Linked DNA regions of Homo sapiens: all the other regions are linked to region 1. Evidence: promoter capture Hi-C in 16 types of primary human blood cells and fetal thymus (Javierre and others, 2016). All regions are on one chromosome and are shown on one strand. The core of a region is centred on a gene start or on the middle of the fragment in contact, and the rest is flanking DNA. Distances in the headings are between cores, read along the strand shown. Region 1 holds the start of ZNF428 (zinc finger protein 428). Region 2 overlaps ETFB (electron transfer flavoprotein subunit beta). Region 3 holds the start of IGFLR1 (IGF like family receptor 1).

What was found. Contacts are between HindIII fragments. The CHiCAGO score rates a contact against its expected background, and 5 or more counts as called.
Region 2: a fragment that was not itself captured here is called in contact with the fragment with the promoter of ZNF428 in region 1 in 1 of 17 cell types (total CD4 T cells); the score reaches 7.8 in total CD4 T cells.
Region 3: a contact is called between the fragment with the promoter of IGFLR1 here and the fragment with the promoter of ZNF428 in region 1, in 1 of 17 cell types (naive CD8 T cells). The highest score is 12.7, in naive CD8 T cells.

The regions. Positions count from the first base shown.
Region 1 is chr19:43,618,114-43,621,312 of GRCh38, reverse strand. ZNF428 (zinc finger protein 428) reads left to right here and starts at 1,684. Exons shown (of 3, transcript NM_182498.4): 1 at 1,684-1,755. It overlaps LOC105372411 (a long non-coding RNA gene), which reads right to left and starts at 2,252. Exons shown (of 4, transcript XR_001753942.2): 1 at 1,681-2,252. RefSeq lists a silencer at 1,631-1,870 and an enhancer at 1,675-2,325. The HindIII fragment of the contact is 4,307 bases long and covers 1-3,199 here.
Region 2 is chr19:51,358,067-51,361,402 of GRCh38, reverse strand. All of the region lies in intron 1 of ETFB (electron transfer flavoprotein subunit beta), which reads left to right. Among named protein-coding and RNA genes, the nearest start is that of ETFB, 6.7 kb to the left of the region's middle. The HindIII fragment of the contact is 200 bases long and covers 1,760-1,959 here.
Region 3 is chr19:35,740,717-35,743,985 of GRCh38, reverse strand. It overlaps IGFLR1 (IGF like family receptor 1), which reads left to right and starts at 1,534. Exons shown (of 5, transcript NM_024660.4): 1 at 1,534-1,590; 2 at 2,763-2,962. The coding sequence starts at 2,806. U2AF1L4 (U2 small nuclear RNA auxiliary factor 1 like 4) reads left to right here. Exons shown (of 6, transcript NM_001040425.3): 5 at 82-177; 6 at 1,183-1,459. The coding sequence ends at 1,267. RefSeq lists a silencer at 1-16 and enhancers at 1,352-1,781, 3,129-3,238. The HindIII fragment of the contact is 10,043 bases long and covers 1-3,269 here.

The sequences.
Region 1 (3,199 bases), core at 435-2,934:
GTGGCCCAGGCTGGAGTGCAGTGGCTCAATCTCGACTCAATGCAACCTCTGCCTCCAGGGTTCAAGTGATCTTCGTGCCTCAGCCTCCCAAGTAGCAAGGATTACAGGCACCCCCCATAACCCCTGGCTAATTTTTGTAGTTTTAATAGAGGCAGGGTTTCACCATGTTGCCCAGGCTGGTCTCAAGCTCCTGACCTCAGGTGATACACCAGCCTCGGCCTCCCAAAGTGCTGGGATTACGGGCGTGAGCCACCGCGCCCAGCCCCATGTACTCTTCATGCCAGTTACAACCACCACCAACTCATGGCCAATCCCGATTTATCCATAACTCCAGTCAAATGTGTAAGTGCTATTATGGAGAGATCAGGAAAAGCCTCTCAGATTGACATCTGTACCAAGATATGAATGGTGAGCACAAGAGTAGGTATTCAAAGGTCAGAGGGAAAAGCATTTTCAGGCGGAGGGAACGGCAAGAGCAGAGGCCCGAGCTGGTAAAGAGTTTGGGGTAAGGTGGAGCTGGACAGAAATGGAGGGAGGAGGAAGTAGGTGGGGTCAGAAAGATAAGCACGGCCAGACCAGGTGTATAGCCCTGAGGCCATGATAAAGATTTTTGGATTTTTTTTTTTTCCTAATGGGATCCCTTTGGGGGAGTTTTAAGCCAGAATGTGACAAAGTCACTTACAGGAAGACTGGAATGTAGCCATAGTTGAACTCTAACATCGTCTATAGAACCATTTCCCGTCTCCAGTTAGGTTCTAGGCATACTAAGCTGCTCTTGCTTCCTCAATCAAAACATGCGCTTCTATTTTTTTTTTTTTTTTTTTGGCCTCTGGGCCTTGGCGCTTGCAGTTCATTCTGCCAGACCCATTCCCATTCTAGTTGGCTCCTATTCGTACTTGGCTTAAGGATCACCACCTCCTGGAAGTCTTTCTAGAACCAGAGGCCGGGGCAAGCGCCTCTTAGGCTCCCACAGCCCCCTGTGTTCCTCACTCCAGGTCTGACCTTCTGGGTAGTAGTTGTCTAATTAGGTGCGTATCTCCTTCGACTGGGGTGCCGTGAGTACAGGAGTATGGTTCACTGCAGAAACCACAGAATCCGCCAGCATGGGGCCTGACACCTAGGAGATCAATAAACCTTTATCCTGGTTGGGAGGGGTCCTGGCCCTCGTGCCCTCTCTCAGGATGCAAACTGATCCCCTACGAAGACAAGGCTACCCACTTCGCGTCAGTCTGCAGTCCCTGCGCGCATGCGCTTTGCTCAGGTTGCCCCCGCCATATGCTAATCACTGCGCTCTGGAGTAAGGCCCCTCCGGGGAATATGCAAATCACTCCTTCCAGTGCGGGAGGCCTTTCATTGTCCCGCGCTAGGATTATGCAAATAAGCAGGCCTCGGGCCCAGGATCCAGTCCGAACTAGCGCCCTCCACCCCCAGCGCATCCCAGTTTTGTAAGGCGCGTTCCTGCCCCGCACACGCACGCGCGAACCCTTCAGCTTCTTGTTCCTTTGGGCCGCGGGCTGTACCAAGTAAACCCAGGCAGCGAGGGGCAAAGCACGGCGCCCCCCGCGCGGGTCTCGTCGACGGCCCGACGCGCATAGCCCCTCTTCCCACAGCGCTACAGGACTAGTCCGTCTCGCCGCGCAAGCGCCCTAGGCTCTTCACGCCCCCTGCGCGCTGTCCTACCCTACTTGCGACGCAGGCGCAGAGGCTGGGCGTGCAGCCGCCGCCGCAGAGCCGGAGCGGGGGCCGCCGGCGCCGGTGAGTGTCCCGGGCAGGGGTGCGCGAGGCATGCCGGGAAGCGGGCGCTACGGCCCCGCTGCATGATGGGAGCGACGACTCCCGTCACCGGGGAGCCGGCGGTCTGGGGCCGTGGTGACCCGAGGGCTTCTTTTTCTCCCCCTACGCGTTTGTGCCGCCCTGGGGCATCCTGGGAGAACCGAGCGCTCCGCCTTGAAGCGCTGTGGGAGTCGGTCCGCTAGTCGTAGGCCTGGTGCATCCTGGGAAAGAGTGTCCCAGATCCTTGTCGAGACCGGTTCCTTTTATCCCACACCTGCCGCTGACCGTCCTGGAGGCTTGGAGCGCTTCCACACGGGGAGTCTGGGAAGGTGGTCGCTATAGGCCTAAGGCATCCTGGGAAGAACTGCCACAACGAATTGTGGGAACTGGCCGTTATTGTCCCGTAGTGGAAGGTTTTGCCCTGGTCTCTTTGCTCGAGCATTGGAACGGGTGCCTATTGTGTTCACGCGGGGCATCTTGGGAATTGACTGCTATAGGCCCAGGGCATTGTGGGGTCTCCAGCACTGTGTTTGCCTTTCAGTTTGGCTGCCATAGGCGTGGTAGGAGTGGGACTTGTGAACCAAGGGATGGCCCTACCTGACGTCTGGAATACTCTGGAAGGGGCCTTGTGTGACGTGGGCTTGGAAAAGTGTAGGCTGATGGGCATTGTCTCCTGGTAACTTCAGGGAATGTCTTGATTGTCCCAGGTGTGTGGTTGCCGTATAAAATATACAATGTCTAGTTAAATTTGAATTTCAGATAAACAATTATATCCAAAAGATACAACCTTTTAGAAAAGTATGTCCCAAATATCACATGGAACATAGCTATATTAATTCTTTGGGCTAGTTGCAGTGATACCAATACTTTGGGAGGCTAAGGCAGGAGGATCGCTTGAGACCAGGAGTTCAAGACCAGCCTGGGCAATATAGTGAGACCCCCGTCTCTACAAAAAAAAAAAAAAAAAAAAAAAGTAAAAATTAAGCCTGGCATGGTGGCGCATACCTGTAGTCCCAGCTGCTCTCCTAGGGGCTAGTAGGGTACCTTGAGCACAGGAGTTTGAGGTTACAGTGAGCTAACCTCCCAACCTGGTTATGGGGGAGTACATGAGTTAAGGCCTGGAAGCCCCTTTCCTACAGATCACCCTACTGCACTCCAGCCTGGGCAACTGAGCGAGACCCTGTCTCTTAAAAAATATAAATAAGTAGGCTGGGCGCGGTGGCTCACGCCTGTAATCCCAGCACTTTGGGAGGCCGAGGCGGGTGGATCACGAGGTCAGGAGATCGAGATCATCCTGGCTAACACGGTGAAACCCCATCTCTACTAAAAATACAAAAAATAGTCGGGCGTGGTGGCAGGCGCCTGTAGTCCCAGCTACTCGGAAGGCTGAGGCAGGAGAATGGCGTGAACCCAGGAGGCGGAGCTT
Region 2 (3,336 bases), core at 610-3,109, 7.7 Mb before region 1:
TCTGTCACTGGGGTGGCTCCCTGGCCTTGGCTGTCCTGCTTGCTGAGTGCCCTAGCACGTGCCCAGGGACTCGCTTGACAGAAAAGCCTAGAGGACAGAACCACACAAGTCCTTGAGCTGTGTCAGGGGTTCAGGAAGAGCTGTCGAAAATCACTTTATAAAATCCCTCTTGGGCCGGGCGTGGTGGCTCACACCTGTAATTCCAGCATTTTGGGAGGCCGAGGTGGGCGGATCACCTGAGGTCAGGAGTTCGAGACCAGCCTGGCCAACATGACGAAACCCCATCTCTACTAAAAATAAAAAAATTAGCCAGGCGTGGGCCGGGCGCGGTGGCCCACACGTGTAATCTCAGCACTTTGGGAGGCTGAGGCGGGTGGATCACAAGGTTAGGAGATTGAGACCATCCTGGCTAACACGGTGAGACCTTGTCTCTACTAAAAATACAAAAAATTAGCCAGGCGTGGTGGCAGGCGCCTGTAGTCCCAGCTACTGGGGAGGCTGAGGCAGGAGAATCGCTTGAACCCAGAAGGTGGAGTTTGCAGTGAGCCAAGATCATACTACTGCACCCCAGCCTGGGCAACAGAACAAGACTCTGTATCAAAAAGAAAGAGAAAGAGAGAGAGAGAGAGAGAGAGAAAGAGAGAAAGAAAAGAGAAGAGAAGAAAATCCCTCTTGCCTGCAGTGGACAACAAATAGGAAGACTGGCTCTCCTAACACCGTGGGCACACGTAGCCTCTTTCAGAGTCTCACAGTTCCCAAGACAGATTTGGGGTTAGACCCGTGGTCCTGCCACTTCCATGCTCAGTGGCCCTGGCCAAGGTACTTGGCCTCTCTGTGCCTCAGTTGCCTCATCTGTAAAATGAGAGGTAATGGCAGTAACCAACCTCACAGGCTACTAGGATGGTCAAACGAGTTAATGCATATAAAACCCTTGACTCGTTGTCTGCATGGGTCAGTGCTGCTTTTAAAAAAATTTTTTTTTTCTTTTCTTTTTTTTTTTTTGAGATAGAATCTGGTCTGTCACCCAGGCTGGAGTGCATTGATGTGATCCCTGCTCACTGCAACCTCCACCTCCCGGGTTCAAGTGATTCTCCTCCCTCAGCCTCCCAACTAGCTGGAATTACAGGCATGTGCTAAAACGCTCGACTAATTTTTGTATTTTTAGTAGAGATGGGGTTTTACCATGTTGGCCAGGCTGGTCTCGAACTCCTGACCACAAGTGATCCACCCACCTCAGCCCCACAAAGTGCTGGGATTACAGGTGTGAGCCGCCACGCCCAGCTTTGAGGCTGTTTTTGATATTGGTGGATATGTCGTCTCTTTAAGAGAAAGCCAGCACTTAATGCTGAATGATTTACCTCAATTATAAAACTTTTTTTTTTTCTTTTTGAGACAAGGTCTAGCTCTGTCACCCAGGCTAGAGTGGTACAGTCACAGCTCGCTGCAGCCTCGACCCTCCTGGGTTCAAGCCGTCCTCCCACCTCAGCCTCCTCAGTAGCTGGGACTACAGGTGCACGCCACCATGACCTGCTAATTTTGTTTTTTGGTAGAGATGAAGTCTCTCTATGTTGCCCAGGCTGGTCTTGAAATCCTGGGCTCCAGTGATCCTCCTTCCTCAGTCTCCTAAGGTGCTGGGATTACAGGCATGAGCCATCATTATTTAAAAAACAAACAAGCTATCATTTTTCAGCCCTACCATTGTTTCCTGACTTATGTAATATAACTAAACTGTTTTTGAAGCTTAAAATCAACTCAAGCTTAATTGAGAAGATGAGCTAGTTTGTTTCCTCAGGTGTGTGTGCGTGCGTGTGTGTGTGTGTGTCTGGAAAGTTCTTACCCTTTCTCCTCAGGAGTCAGGAGCCTGGGAATCAGGAGCTTAGGGCTGGGAGTTCTGCCAGAGCAAGAGCAAGATGTGGCTTGAGGCCCTTCAGAAGCCTCCCTGACTCACAGCAAGAAGCTTGGGGCCTCTTACTGATGGGTGGATGAGGTTCTTTTCTGTCTTAAAGGGGCAACTCCTATGTTGTGTTTTTTTTTTTAAGAAAAAAGGCCAGGCACTGCGACTCACACCTGTAATCCCATCACTTTGGTAGGCTGAAGCAGGCGGATCACTTTAGGCCAGGAGTTCCAGACCAGCCTGGGAAACACGGGGAAATCCTTTCTCTACAAAAAGTAAAAAAAAAAAAATTAGCCCGGCATGATGGTGCCCGCCTGTGGTCCCAGCTACTGGGGAGGCTGAAGTGGGAGGATCACCTGAGCCCGGGAGGTGGAGGTTGCAGTAAGGCAAGGTGGCACCTCTGCACTCCAGCCTGGGCAACGAGAGAGATGAAAATAACAGTTCTTTCTCTTTCCTCTCCTCTTCCAGCTCCTTCTCCTCTTTCTCCTTTTTCTTTTTCTTTTTCTTTTTTGAGATGAGGTCTTGCTCTGTCACCCAGGTTACATGTAGTGGCATGATCACGGCTCACTGCACCCTTGACCTCCTGGGCTCAGGTGATCCTCCCGCCTCAGCCTCCTGAGTAGCTGGGACTACAGGTGTGTGCCACCATACCTGGCTGTTTTTTTTTTTTTTTTTTTGTTGTTGTTTGTTTGTTTGTTTTGAGGCGGAGTCTTGCTCTGTCGCCCAGGCTGGAGTGCCGTGGCGCAATCTTGGCTCATTACAACCTCCACCTCCTGGGTTCAAGCAATTCTCCCTGCCCCAGCCTCTGAGTAGCTGCAATTACAGGCGTGCACTACCATGCCCGGCTAATTTTTTATTTTATTTTTATTTTTAGTAGAGATGGGGTTTTGCCATGTTGGCCAGGCTGGTCTTGAACTCTTGACCTCAGGTGATCCGCCCACCTTGGCCTCCCAAAGTGCTGGGATTACAGGCATGAGCCACCACGCCCAGCTGTTTTTGTTTTTGTTGTTGTTGTTTGTAGAACCTGTTGCCCAGGCTAGTATCCAACTCCTGGGCACAAGTGATCCTCCCACCTTGGCCTCCCAAATTTCTGGGATTACAGACAGGAGCCACTGCGCCCGGTCTCAGTCCTCCATCTTTTAATGTTACCCTCTCCATGAGGCACAGCCAGAGTGGGAAGCCCCTTATGGGTCCCACCTTCTCATCTCGGATTCTGTCCTGCCTGTGGGAGGAACAGTTACACCCACAGCCCCAGAGAAAAAGGGGCAGGGAAATAGCAAGAGCATCCCAGTGTCCTCACCAGGCTCAGCTGCCACCCGAGATCTGCTCTGGCCAAGCCCTGGGTGGCGGCCACATGGGAGAAGAGGAAGAGGGCAGGCTCCAGGCCAAATGGGGCAGCTCCCTAGCAAGGCTTCTGTGGATGTCCCTGGAGGCTTTTTAAA
Region 3 (3,269 bases), core at 285-2,784, 7.9 Mb after region 1:
CACTTGGAATCCCAGACTTTGAATGCGTGGTAGGGGCTGTCAGTGACAATGGCTTCCTCCATCTCTCTACCCTCTATGCAGGGAATGTACCCGAGGTGGCTTCTGCAACTTCATGCATCTGCGGCCCATTTCCCAGAACCTCCAGAGGCAGCTCTATGGGCGGGGACCCAGGCGCAGGTACCTCAGGACCAGCCTGCTATGTCTCCTCATGTCCTAAGGCCCCTATATCCTCAGATGAGCCTAACCCTAAGCCCCAGTAACCACGTTCCCAAGAATCTTTTTTTTTTTTTTTTTTTTTTGAGATGGAGCCTCACTCTGTTGCCCAGGCTGGAGTGCATTGGCACCATCTTGGTTCATGGCAACTTCCGCCTCCCGGGTTCAAGCAATTCTCTGCCTCAGCCTCCCAAATAGCTGGGATTACAGGCACCTGCCACCATGCCCGGCTAATTTTTGTGTTTTTAGTAGAGATGGGGTTTCACCATCTTGGCCAGGCTGGTCTGAACTCCTAACCTCGTGATCCACCTGCCTCACCCTCCCAAAGTGCTGGGATTACAGGCGTGAGCCACCACTCCCGGCTGACTGTTTTTTTTTTTTTTTTTTTTTTTTTTTTTTGAGACGGAGTTTTGCTCTTCTTCCGCAGGCTGGAGTGCAAAGGCGCAGTCTTGGCTCAGTGCAACCTCTGCCTCCCAGGTTCAAGCAATTCTCCTTTCTCAGCCTCCCAAGTAGCTGGGATTATAGGCACCTGCCACCATGCCTGGCTAATTTTTGTATTTTTAGTAGAGATGGGGTTTCACCACGTTGGCCAGCCTGGTCTCGAACTCCGGACCTCAGGTAATCCACCCATCTCGGCCTCCCAAAGTGTGGGGATTACAGGCGTGAACCACTGCGCCCGGTCATTCCCAAGACTCTTATACCCTAAGAGTAGTTCTGAGCTCCATCTGGAGACCAGTACCTAAGTCCCAATCCCCAAACCAGCCTGAACCCCTAATCCACGACCAGCCTGGATTGCCACCCCTGATACTGGCCACTGAGTTCCCCTGATACTGGCCACTGAGGTCGTGTCTTAGAACTCTAGTTATTTCAGCACCCTCCTGCCTCATCCCAGAGCAGAGAGGCAGGCCTGCAGGATCTCTGCACCACTCCTCAGGGTTCTAACAGAACTCTCAACGCTCCTATTCCCAGGTCACCCCCGAGGTTCCATACTGGCCACCATCCCCGAGAGAGGAACCATCGGTGTTCCCCTGATCACTGGCATGGCCGCTTCTGAGGCCCTGGCCCCCTTACCCTTCACCCCCAACAGGGACAGATGTTCCTGGCAGGACCTCTCCTCAAAGCCCCCTTCACTCTCCTGCCCCATCCTTCCCAGGCTCCCGGGCTCCATAATGTAATCTGTTCAGCATGGAGACCTTCTTCTACCGCCCCTGTCTTAATAAAGCTGCGTGTTTCACTTCGGCATCAACTTGCTTTTGCTGTGGTTTGGCATTTCCCTCCACCCACACATGTGACGAAAAGGGGAAACAAGACTGGGTCCTGGCCACAACTTCAGCTGAGGAACTTGGCACGGCCAGCTTGGGACCCAGGACCCTAACGGTACTGGTAGGGTGGGGACACCTTTGTGCTGAAAACCTTAGCACCTCCATCTGAGGCTTATTCAAGGGGGAGAGACCTGGTTGTGGCAGGTGGGAGGAGCCCTAGCCCCAAGGAGATTAGGATTCAAAGGTGAGGTGAGGTGCTGGGAGGTGGTCTCCAGCCAGTATGGGGCTGACTCCTCCGTGCCTGCCGAATTGTGATGGGAGTTAGTAATGCCTTACACTTAAACACTGAGTTTACTGTATGTGAGGTGCTGTTTTCAGCACTTTAGTTTGTTTTTGTTTTTTTTAAGGAGTTTCATTCCTGTTGCCCAGGCTGGAGTGCAATGGCACGATCTCAGCTCACTGCAGCCTCCACTTCCCAGGTTCAAGCAATTCTGCCTCAGCCTCCCAAGTAGCTGGGATTTACAGGCATGCGCTACCACGCCCGGCTAATTTTGTATTTTTAATAGAGACAGGGTTTCACCATGTAGGCCAGGCTGGTTTTGAACTACTGACCTCAGGTGATCCACCCACCTGGGCCTCCCAAAGTGTTGGGATTACAGGCATGAGCCACTGCGCCCGGCGGCCAGTTTTTTTTGTTTTTAGAGATGAGGTCTTGCTGTGTTGCCCAGGCTGGTCTGTAATTCATGGCTCAAGCAATCCTCCTACCTTGGCCTCCCTAGTAGCAGGGACTACAGACGTGAGCCACTGCACTTGGCAAAGTGCTTTGCTGTTTTTTTTTTTTTTTTTTTTTTTTGTAAAGATGGGGTTTCATTTTGTTGTCCAGGCTGATCTCTCGAACTCCTGGGCTCAAGTGATCCTCCTGTCTTGGCCTCCCAAAGTGTTGGGATTACAGGCATGAGCCACCACACCCAGCCCCTGCTTTACTTCTAATGACGGTTCTAATTCTCCACAATAACCCTATGAGACAGGTGCTATCATTGTCTTATTTTAGGGATGGAAAAGGGAGGGTGGGTGGGTGAGGACACGGCAGAGGTGGGATATGCATTCTTGCAATCTAGATCCGCAGCCCTGTTAGTCCCCTAGTGGCCTTGTGGGCTTCTCTGATAACCGGCTCAGTTGGGGGATGAGGGCTCGGGGGTAGATTCCCGGCTTCCGAAGAGGCGTGAGAATTCTGTTCCCCCACATCACCGCGTCCTTTCTTCTGCCCGATTTCCCCGGAAAGTGTAGCAGAGGCGCTGTGTTTGGAAGTCCCGCTATCACGGCCCCCCAGATGGGGCCTGGACGATGCCTCCTGACGGCCTTGTTGCTTCTGGCCCTGGCGCCACCGCCGGAAGCCTCCCAGTACTGCGGCCGCCTTGAATACTGGAACCCAGACAACAAGTGCTGCAGCAGCTGCCTGCAACGCTTCGGGCCGCCCCCCTGCCCGGGTGAGAATCCGAGACCGAGCCTTGCTTGGGCGGAGCTTGCAGGTGATAGGGAGCGGGGAAGGGGCGAGGTCTGTGGGCTACGGGCCAGAGAGGCTTGCTTAGGGGTCTAAGCGGTGGGCCTTATGCAGATCAGACAGGGATGGCAGGCAGAGCCTGTGCAGATAGTGCGGGCTACCGTAGGGCAACAGCGAATGGATATGGCTGGAGAGGCGGGATAGGGGCCGCGTGGAAAGGGTGGGCTTTATGTAGAGAAGCCGGGAGTGGGCGGAGCTTCGTGCGGAGCAGGCTGGAGGGGGGTGAAAAGGCG